2 separate regions of the Homo sapiens genome follow, and region 1 is linked to region 2. Evidence: promoter capture Hi-C in human tissues and cell types (Jung and others, 2019). All regions are on one chromosome and are shown on one strand. Each heading gives the region's core, a stretch centred on a gene start or on the middle of the fragment in contact. The rest is flanking DNA. Distances are from core to core; before and after follow the strand shown.

Region 1 (4,996 bases), core at 440-2,939, 73 kb before region 2:
ATAACTTTTCTAGAGGAGGTGCTGGGGGGTGGGTGAGCCAGATCAGCATATGGCTGCTGGGACCCCACAGGGCCCCCTACCGTGGGCTGCTCCCTGATTTGAAGGCCACCACCACGCTGGCCCCTGGGGATCCTGGATTGGCCTCAGTGTTGCTGACATCCTCAGATTTTCCTGAGTAATAAGAGCAAAGTGAGGACAGGTAGGAAGGCACACTTTGTTGAACACCTACTGTGTGCTGGGTGTTTGCACATTTGCTCTCATTTGATCATCTTCCTTCAAGGAAAACAGTAGCATCTAGATCTTAACTGTAGGGCAAGGGAGACCCACAGAGGGTGATTTACAGAACCACCCCAGAGCCTGAACTCTTTTTCCTGCCCCATGAGGAGGTCACCAGATGGCAGCTGCAGAGACCCCAGGCCCCAGGTCCTAGGTTTGCTCGGCAGTGAAGGGCTGCAAGTTGGGGGAGATGTTTGCCTTCTGCCTGCCAGCCCTCCATGTAGACCTTCAGAAGCTTCTGGTGCAGGGACCATCTCCTGCTGGACATGGTTGGGGTAGGAGGGTCTGGTTGCAACAGTCCTGGACCTTGAGGTGGGAGGCAGAGATAGGGCACAGGTGGAGGCAGGGCCAGGAAGGAGGAGCATGACATAGCAGGCTGGGGTCAAACTCCTGACTTCACAGTCTGCCCTGAGCCTTCTCCGCAGCTTTTGGCTTGGTCCAGGCCCTTTGAGGGGAATGCCAAGTTGGAGTGTCATGTGTTGCCCCAGTCACTTCTGCATGGGCTCCAAGAGCCACCAGCAAGCTTGAGGCCAGATCCAACTCCGCAAATGACTAGAGGTGTCATCCTGGGCAAGTGACCTCCTGCGCCTCTGTCCCCATCTGCCCAGTGGGCATTAGCACATCGCTATCACAGCGAGCTTTAAGGACTAAGTGGGACAAAGTGCCAGGAGGGACCTGGCATGGAGCAGGTGCTCGGGGAACTTCGGCTGATTCTCAAGTGAAAGCAGAAGCAAGGGGGCAGCTGGACTGCAGCCATCTCCAAGATCCTGGAATTTAATCCCTTTGAATATAAGATCCCTGAGAAGAGGCAGGTGGAGGTGTAGGTCCGTGAAGAACTGGCCGCTCTCATCCCTGTGCCTTTGGCACACCTGCAACCCTCGTTTTCTCACCTGTTGCTCCAGCTAAGTGAGCAATGTGAGAGTCCCAGGAGGTTACAAATGGATCTGCACCATCAGTGTTCCCAGTGCCCCAGCACAGAAAATATAATGAATCAGCCTTGAGGGTAGTGAGCTCTCTGTTCTTAAAAGTATGAGAACAGAAGTTGAACTCCTGGCAGGGAGTTAGATGAGGAATTGGTGTTTTTTTTGTTTTGTTTTGTTTTTTTGAGATGGAGTCTTGCTCTGTCACCCTGCCTGGAGTGTAGTGGCGTGATCTTGGCTCACTGCAACCTCTGCCTCCTGGGTTCAAGCGATTCTCCTGCCTCAGCCTACTGAGTAGCTGGGATTAAAGGTGCCTGCCACCATACCTGGCTATTTTTTTTTTTTTTTTTTGTAGTTTTAGTAGAGACGGGGTTTTACCCTGTTGGCCAGGCTGGCCTCGAACTCCTGACCTCATGTGATCAGCTCGCCTCAGCCTCCCAAAGTGCTGGGATTATAGGTGTGAGCCAGCACGCCTGGCCTGCACGAGGAATTTCTACTCCAGGTGGGTCTATGAGGACCAGGCTGGGGAATGAGAGGAAGTGGGGGGCTGTCCTCTGGCCACTCTTAGTGGCTTCTCTAGAATTTCTGCATAGGACTGACTTGAGACTTGTCTTGAAGTTGTATTTGCAAAACAAAGTCGCTTATTCCTTAGGTTGCCTTTTTATTTGGGGTGGGGTCCCCAAGACAGTGGGTAAAGGCTAGCAGCTATGAGAAACATGTGTTTCTCTAACTGCCCACGAGGGGGCAGCCTACACTGCATTTTCGGCTCCAGTTCTTGGCTGGGGAGAGTGACGCGGGCAGATCCTGACATGAGGACAGGGCTGGGGGCTGATGGATTGGGAAGAATTGGGCATCAGATGGGTGTGGGGCGGGGGCTATTCTTCTCCCCATAGATCACAAGCCCGACTTTTTTGGGGTTAGGAGGAACAGGCAAGGTGGGAAGCTTTCCTTTCAACAGTGAATCCTGCCACTGGAAAAATTTAGTAGAATTTGAAGACCACGGTTGTAGCAAGCGTCCAGGAAGCGTTTCAGCTCGACATTTCGGGACAGATTCCTGCCTCTCCGGGGCAAGGAGCACGTGACAGCATGGCTGCTGGGAGGAAGGGAGCCCCGCACATTGTGCACATGTACCCTAAAACTTAAAGTATAAATAAATAAATAAATAAATAAATAAATAAATAAATAAAAGAAAAGCCCCCAGAGGGCGGCCCTGAGCTCACATAGGACAGTTAAGCAGGGGACTTGAGGCACGGTGGTGAGCTGGAGCTCCTCTGTCATCCCCTGGGTGGGAGGAACCTGGTGCTGGCTTGTGTGTAGTGCGTATCTACCCACTTCAGCCTCCCAAAGTGCTGGGATTACAGGCTCATTGCAGAGCTCCTGGCCTTTTCCCCGGGCAGCCACTCGCAGCAGGCCCAGTGACATCCTGGGTGGATGAGGGCAGGGAACCGAGAGCGGCTGGAGGGGAAGGAGATGGGATAGGACCATTTCTGGAAAGAATGGGTGGATTGGTCACTCAGAGAACAGCAGAACCCAGCCCTTCCAGGAACCATCCCCAGAAGCCCCTTCTGGCTCTGGATGGGCTTTTCTAGATGGGGTGCTACAGGGGTGAGCCCGATGTATATGTGGCTGCCAGGACTCCCCACAGTCCCCTGAGTCTGAGCCCCTGTGCATCCGCAGCTTATGCATGTAGCATTATCAGCGCAGGATGCTCACACTGGTTTAGCACAGTGCGCCTGTAGGCACCGGGAAGTTCTGACTCTCCCTTGGAGTGGGGCCTGGAGCCCCTCTCTGGGTGAGGGGATGGCCTCACCTCTCTCTGGGTGAGAAGGCAGCCCCTTCTCAAACTCATCGGGTGCATCCCTGGGGACACAGGGCAGAAAGACCCATGACCCCCTTTGGGCTCCAAGTTGGGGGTGCAGGGCAGAGGCCAGAGAGCTCAGCCAGAGCCTAGCAGACCCCAGGCGGGCAAGGAGGAAATTATACCGAGTCCCACCCACTGCCTGTTTGCCCAGCTGCAGGGGAGCCTGGCAGGAGCCAGGATAGGATTCTGCAGCCCTGGGGCAGCAGGGACTAGGAGGGGACTGGCCTGGCAGAATGAAGGCTGGGTTTTCAGCCTTGCCCGTACACCACCTTCCTGGAAAGAAGACCTTCTTCCCAGGAAAAGAAAAGCCCCCGGAGGGTGGCCCTTTCCTTCCCGTCCTGGTCTTTACAATCTTGCAAAAGGTCCCCAAATGCATACCTGAAATACCTCTGAGTTCATAGAGCCAAAAAGATCTAGGTTTCAGTTCTGGCTCTTCTGCTTTCCTGAAGAAGCCATCTTCCCTCTCTGAACCTCTGTCTCTCCATCTCTAAATTTGGGTTATTTCACAGGTGAGGCTATGCCTTTCCTAAGAGGGGTGATAATTTGCCTTCAAGCACACAGTAACCCCTTTCCTGCCTCAGGACCTTTGCACAGGTTGGTCCCTCTGCCTAGAACTCTTTTTCCTCTTTTTTTTTTTTTTGATTTTTTATTTTTTGAAGCAAAGTATCGCTCTATCTCCCAGGCTGGAGTGCAGTGGTCCGATCTCGATCTTGGCTCACTATAACCTCCGCCTCCCGGGTTCAAGCGATTCTCCTGTCTCAGCTTCCCGAGTAGCTGGGACTACAGGCATCCGCCACCACTCCCGGATAATTTTTGTATTTTTAGTAGAGACAGAGTTTCACCATATTGGCCAGGCTGGTCTCGAACTCCTGACCTTGTGATCCGCCCGCCTCAGCCTCCCAAAGTGCTGGGATTACAGGCGTGACCCACCGCGCCCACCCTCCTCTTTTCTTTTCTTTTCTTTTTTCAGATGGAGTCTCGCTCCTTCGCCTGGGCTGGAGTGCAATGGCACAATCTTGGCTCACTGCAGCCTCCGCCTCCTGGGTTCAAACAATTCTCCTGCCTCAGCCTCCCGAGTAGCTGAGATTACAGGCATTCACCACTATGTCTGGCTAATTTTGTGCTTTTAGTAGAGACGGGGTTTCTCCATGTTGAGGCTGGTCTCGAACTCCTGACCTCAGGTGATCCACCCGCCTCAGCCTCCCAAAGTGCTGGGATTACAGGCGTGAGCCACCGCGCCCGGCATACCTGGCTATTTTTTTTTTTTTTGAGATGGAGTCTCGCTCTGTTGCCCAGGCTGGAGCGCAGTGGCATGATCTGGGCTTACTGCAACCTCTGCCTCCCAATGCCCAGCTAATTTTTGTAGTTTTAATAGAGACAGAGTTTCACCATGTTGGCCAGGCTGGTCTTGAACTCTTGACCTCAGATGATCCTCCTGCCTCAGCCCCCCAAAGTGCTGAGATTACAGGTGTGAGCCACTGTGCCCAGCCAACCTTTTTTTTTTTTTTTTAATGGGCTCTCGTTCTGTTGCCCAGGCTGGAGTGCAGTGGAGCCATCTCAACTCACTGCAACCTCTACCTCCCAGGCTCAAGCAATCCTCCCACCTCAGCCTCCCGAGTAGCTGGGGTTACAGGCACCCGCCACCATGCCCGGCTAATTTTTATATTTTTAGTAGAGATGGGGTTTTCACCATGTTGGCCAGGCTGGTCCTGAACTCCTGACCTGAAGTGATCCACCCACCTCAGACTCCCAAAGTGCTGGAATTACAGAAGTGAGCCAACGTGCCCAGCCTCCATCTTAACCATTTTTAAGTACACAGTTTAGTGGTATTAAATGCACTCATAATGTTGTGCAGCCATCACCACTGTCCATCTCCAGAGCCCTTTCCATCTTGTAAACCTGAAACCCTACCCATTAAACACTAACTCCCCATTCCCCC
Region 2 (5,736 bases), core at 2,574-5,073:
CACTTTGGGAGGCCAAGACTGGTGGATCACTTGATGTCAGGAGTTCAAGACCACCCTGGCCAATATGGTGAAACCCTATTTCTACTAAAAATACAAAAATTAGCCAGTTGTGGTGGCATGTGCATGTAATCTCAGCTACTCGGGAGGCTGAGGCAGGAGAATCGCTTGAACTCAGGAGATGGAGGTTGTGGTGAGCTGAGATCATGCCACTGCACTCTAGCCTGGGTAACAGAGCGAGACGGTGTCTCAAAAAACAAACAACAACAACAAAAAATGAAAAAAAAAACAGTAACAAATATAGTAGACATTAATTCAACTATATCATTAATTAAGCATCAGTCATCTAAATACACCAATTAAAAGACAGAGGTTCTCAGTATGGATGAAAAACAAGACCCAACAATATGTTGTCTACAAGAAACACATTTTAAATATAAAGACATACATAGATTAAAAGTAAAGTGGTGGAGAAGGATATATCATTGATAACACTAATCAAAAGAAAGCAGGAGTAGGTATACTAACTTCAGAAAGAGCAGATTTAGAGAAACAAAAGGTAGGCTGGGTGGCTCACGCTTGTAATCCCAGCACTTTGGGGGGCTGAGGCGGGCAGGTCACCTGAGGTCGGGAGTTCAAGACCAGCCTGACCAACATGGAGAAGCCCCATCTCTACTAAAAATACAAAATTAGCTGGGCGTGGTGGTGCATACCTGTAATCCCAGGTACTCGGGAGGCTGAGGCAGGAGAATCACTTGAACCCAGGAGGCAGAGGTTGCGGTGAGCTGAGATCGTGCCACTGCACTCCAGCCTGGGCAACAAGAGTGAAACTTTGTCTCAAAAAAAAAAAAAGTCATCAGGTTATAAATCTATACAGCAAAACATATACAAGAGCTATATGAGTAAAACTACAAAACTCTGATCAAAGATATAAAAGAATTACATAAATTGAGAAATATTTCATGTTCACAGATAGAAAGAAAATATAGTCAAAATGTCTGTTCTTCCAAACCTGATCTATAGATTCGATGCAATCCCAATCCAAGTATCAGCATATTATTTTTGTGGATGTCGACAAACTGATTGTAAAATTGATATGGAGATACAAAAGACCTAGAAGAGCCAGCTCACTATTAAAGGAGAACAAAGTTGGAGGACTGATACTACCCAACTTCAAGACTTACTATAAACTACAGTAATAATGACAATGTGGTATTGGTGAAAGAATAAACAATCCAGAAGTAGACCCACATAAACGTAGTCAACTGATCTTTGACAGAGGAGTTAAAGCAATATAATGGAGCAAAGATAGGTTTTTCAACAAATTATGTTGGAACAACTGAATTTTCACACACATAAAAATGTATCAGGCCGGGTACGGTGGCTCACGCCTGTAATCTCAGCACTTTGAGAGGCCGAGGTGGGCAGATCAATTGAGATCAGGAGTTCGAGACCAGCCTGGCCAACATGGTGAAACCTTGCCTCTACTAAAAATACAAAAACTAGCCAGGTGTGGTGGCGGGTGCCTGTAATCCCAGCTACTTGGGAGGCTGAGACAGGAGAATCACTTGAACCCAGGAGGCAGACATTGCAGTGAGCTGAGATCGTGCCACTGCACTCCAGCCTGGGCAACAGAGTGAGACTCCGTCTCAAAAAAAAAAAAAAAATTATCTAGGCAAAGACCTTGCACCCTTCATAAAAATTAACTCAGAATGGATTGTAGACCTAAATGTAAAATGGAACACTATAAAACTCCTGGAAGACAACACAGGAGAAAACCTAACTGATCTTGGGAATGGCAATGACTTTAGGGCAATACCAATAGCATAATCTGTGAAAAATATAATTGATAAGCTGGACTTCATTAAAATTTAAAACTTCTGCTCTTCAAAAGAAGAATGAGAAGACAAGCCACAGACTAGGAGAAAATATTATAAAAGACGTATCTGATAGAGGACTGTTATCTACAATATACCCAGAACTCTTAAATCACAACAAGAAAATAACACAATGTAAAAATGGGCAAAATACCTGAATGAACACTTCATCAAAGAAGATATACACATGGCAAGTAAGTATATGAAAAGATGTTCAATATCATATGTCATTAGGGAATTGCATATTAAAACAATAAGATACTACTACACACTTACTTGAACGGCAAAATACTGACACCACAAAACGCTGACAAGGATGTGGAGCAACAGAAACCCTCATTCACTGCTGTGGGAATGCAAAATGATGCAGCCACTTTGAAAGGCAGTTTGGTAGTTTCTCCCAAAACTAAATATACCATCCAATCCAGCAGTTGCACTCCTTGGTATTTACCCAGATGAATTGAAAACTCATGTCTACACAAAAATCTGCACATGATGTATAGCGGCTTTATTCATAATTACCCAAACTTGGAGGCCACCAAGATGTCTTTCAGTAGGTGAATGGATAAACCGCAGCACATCCAGACGATGGAATATTATTATTCAGCACAAAAAAGAAATGAGCTATCAAGCCATGAAAAGACATGGAAGAACTTTAAGTGCATAAGTGAAAGAATCCGATGTGAAAAGGCTGCATACTGTATGATTCCAACTATATGGGATTCTGGAAAAGGCAAAACTATGGAGACAGTAAAAGGAGCAGTGGTTGCCAGTGGTTAGGGGACTGAGAAGGATAAATAGGCAGAGGACAGAGGATTTTCAGGGCAGTGAAACTATCGTGTATGATACCATAATGGTGGATACATGTCATTACATATATGTCAAAACCCACAGAATGTGCAACACCGAGAGTAAACTCTAATGTAAACTATGGACTCTGGGTGATAATGATGTGTCAAAGTTGGGTAATCAATTGTTACCAAATGTACCACTGTAGCACAAGATGTCCATGAGGGGACAAGTTGTGTATGTGCCTGTGTGTACAGGGGATATATGGGAACTCTGTACTTTCTGTTCAGTTTTGCCCTGAACCAAAAACTGCTCTATAAGTGTTCATTAATAACAGTAATTTTAAAAGACAAGGACCCCTTCTGACCTAGGGAATCTCTGGTGATGGAGGGGGAAGGGTGAAGCAGTCCCCTAGAAAGTGTAGATTTTACAAAGTTCTTCAACTGATTTTGTAGAGCTAGGTTTGGAACTGCTACCCTACTCTATGCTATTCGCCCAAGTAGTGGTTCCCAAACCAGGTGTCAGGCTTCAAGGCTGTGCAATATTCCTCATTACACGGTCTTGGCCCTAAACGCATGCTTTCCCGTCTCCCCACAAATCAAGACTCTAAAATGCCAGGGGTAGAAGAGCGGCACTTTCCTGTGTACTGAGTATGGGGGAAGGGAGAGCAGTCAAGCACGGACTGGCTGATTTTAACCCCCAAAAGGGCTGAAGCTGATACGCTTTGAAGATCGACCACGGCAGGAATATCTTGTTTTCTTTAATCCATCAGGGGGTTGTCGCACTTATTAAGTCCCACAGCTGCAGTTTAGCACGGAGGGGCTGTCACGTCACCAGGCCTCCCTGAAAGTCCTCCGCTCCAGCTCTGCGATTGGCGCTGGGGTAACAGGAGGGGAAGCGGGTGCTTTTCATCGAGCCTGCAAGAGGGGGGCCCAGGCATCGAGGCTGGGGAGTCGTGGGTAGAGCCCCGATTCCAGCCAAGACGCCACAGGACATAAGTAAGCGTGGAGGGCAAAATGACTACCCAAGCGCAATTCTGTAAGGCCGAAGGGACGTTCTTCCAACCTCTTAAATTTCCCGGGTGCCACGCCCCTCAATTGACGGCCCTGGATTCCAAGGTGTCGCGCCGGAAGTGACCTCACGGTGGTGGCGTGGAGACGTGGGGGCGCTTCCGGCAGCGGCGGCGGTGGTGAAGGCCGATGCTGTGGGGGTGGGCGTGGAGAGAATTCTTCTGTGGGTCCTCTGGTGTTGAGTGGTCGGCTTGGTGTGGTGTGCGGAGGAGCTCCAGGCCCGTCGGCGCGGAGGTGGGAGCGAAGGGAGGCTACTGGTTTGTGGACGGTCGTGGGAGGGGGCTGCCGGGGTTGCTTTAGGCTTCAGAGTTCCAGGCCTCGTAGACCTTTATAGAGGCAGGCAGGCAGGCAAGAGCTGGGGGCTTCATCGGATGAGCAGGGGACCACGTACTACGGGCGGCCCCAGGAGTTTGGTTTGAGGTGGAAGGCTGAGGACTGCAGGATTCTAAATAGTATGGGGATTGTGTGGGGAGTGAGGCATTAGCTGCTTGGGCCCTTAGTCCAGCCTTGTTGGTGGCTGCTGCAGTTCTTTGGCTCACTCACTCTGTTCTTCGTGCCTCAGTTTCCCTTTGCATAATGAGATACGGTGGCAGAGAAGAACGCCAGTGCCACATCCATGACTGATAGCTTGAGGACGGAGATGAACTGGAGGGTAGAAAAAGAGGATGCCTGAGAAATTTATACCTACCAGGTCACATCTTCGAATCCCAGGAAGTTATCCCTGGATTCATTTCTGCCTTTGATGCAAGTCTGTGGTTCTTTTCAGTACACTTTGTGTGATATTGATTGTATGTATCAATACTTGACTTGCTGAGTGGTTAAAGTGTTTTGGTTTGTGGGAGGCATAGTCCTTGTTGGCTTGGTCAGTTAATTTTCAGTTAATCTCCCAATAGCAATTGCTTCGCCTAACTCTTCAATTGGGAGATTAGTTGAAAATCAACTGACCAAGCCAACAGTCTTCTCCTGTGGTTACAGGTGAGGAACTCGCGACCCAGAATGGTTTTTCTTCTCTTCCTTCGCCACAGACCAAACCGATTTCAGTCTGCTGTCTCAAATACAGGTCTTCACCCCACCAAAACAGAAATGGCTGTCTCCAAGCAGTTTAGTATTTCAACTGGACACCCAGATGGATCCTAATCTTTTTTTTTTTTTTTAATGAATGGCAGATTACGTGTACTGAGCACAAAATCCTCTTAGCTAGTTTCTCTGTATGATGTAAAAACATGACATTTTGTTTATTACCAATTTCTTGGTAGAGCCTCCTTGGCATAGGGCTGTGGGGCTAGAAAAGTGTCTCAAAATTTTTTACCTGTGACCCACAGTTAGATATATTATACATCATGACTTATTGTGCCCCTGCACACTCAGTGTGTACACACACACACACACCAATGAAAAGTTTACTTACCCTTTCTACAGAAGATGCACTCTAAAAAAATATTGGTTGCAACTCACTAAATTGAGTCTGACCCCTAATAGGTCATGACGTATAGTTTGAAAAATATTAAGGCCGGGCACTGTGGCTCACGCCAGTAATCCCAGCACTTTGGGATGCTGAGGCGGGTGGATCACCTGAGGTCAGGAGTTGGAGACCAGTCTGGGCAACGTGGTGAAACCCCGTATGTACTAAAAATACAAAACTTAGCTGGGTGGTGGTGGGTGCCTATAATCCCAGCTATTTGGGAGGCTGAGGCAGGAGAAACGCTTGAACCTGGGAGGGAGAGGTTGCAGTGAGCCAAGATATGCTACTGCACTCCAGCCTGGGCAACAAGAACTAAACTTCTCAAAAAAAGAAAAGAAAAGAAAAATATTAGACTAGGGCCGAGTGCAGTGGTGGGAGGATTGCTTAAGGCCAGCCTGGGCAACATAGCAAGACTCTGTCTAAGAAAAACAACATTAGAAAATGTTTAAAATCCTTGCCATTTGTGAGATTCTGTAATTAATACAAAATGGAAGATGTATCATTTTTCTTTTCTTATCCAGAGAAGGGCTTACTAGAGTTC

Evidence for each region. Contacts are between HindIII fragments. The study calls those that stand out against the background at their distance.
Region 1: a contact is called between a fragment that was not itself captured here and the fragment with the promoter of EDC3 in region 2, in 2 of the 25 tissues and cell types used here (H1 embryonic stem cells and dorsolateral prefrontal cortex).

Annotation. Positions count from the first base shown.
Region 1 is chr15:74,765,972-74,770,967 of GRCh38, reverse strand. No RefSeq gene overlaps it. Among named protein-coding and RNA genes, the nearest start is that of CSK, 14 kb to the left of the region's middle. RefSeq lists an enhancer at 2,857-3,634. The HindIII fragment of the contact is 3,893 bases long and covers 1-3,635 here.
Region 2 is chr15:74,694,111-74,699,846 of GRCh38, reverse strand. It overlaps EDC3 (enhancer of mRNA decapping 3), which reads left to right and starts at 3,823. Exons shown (of 7, transcript NM_025083.5): 1 at 3,823-3,967. RefSeq lists an enhancer at 3,774-3,863. The HindIII fragment of the contact is 33,216 bases long and covers 1-5,736 here.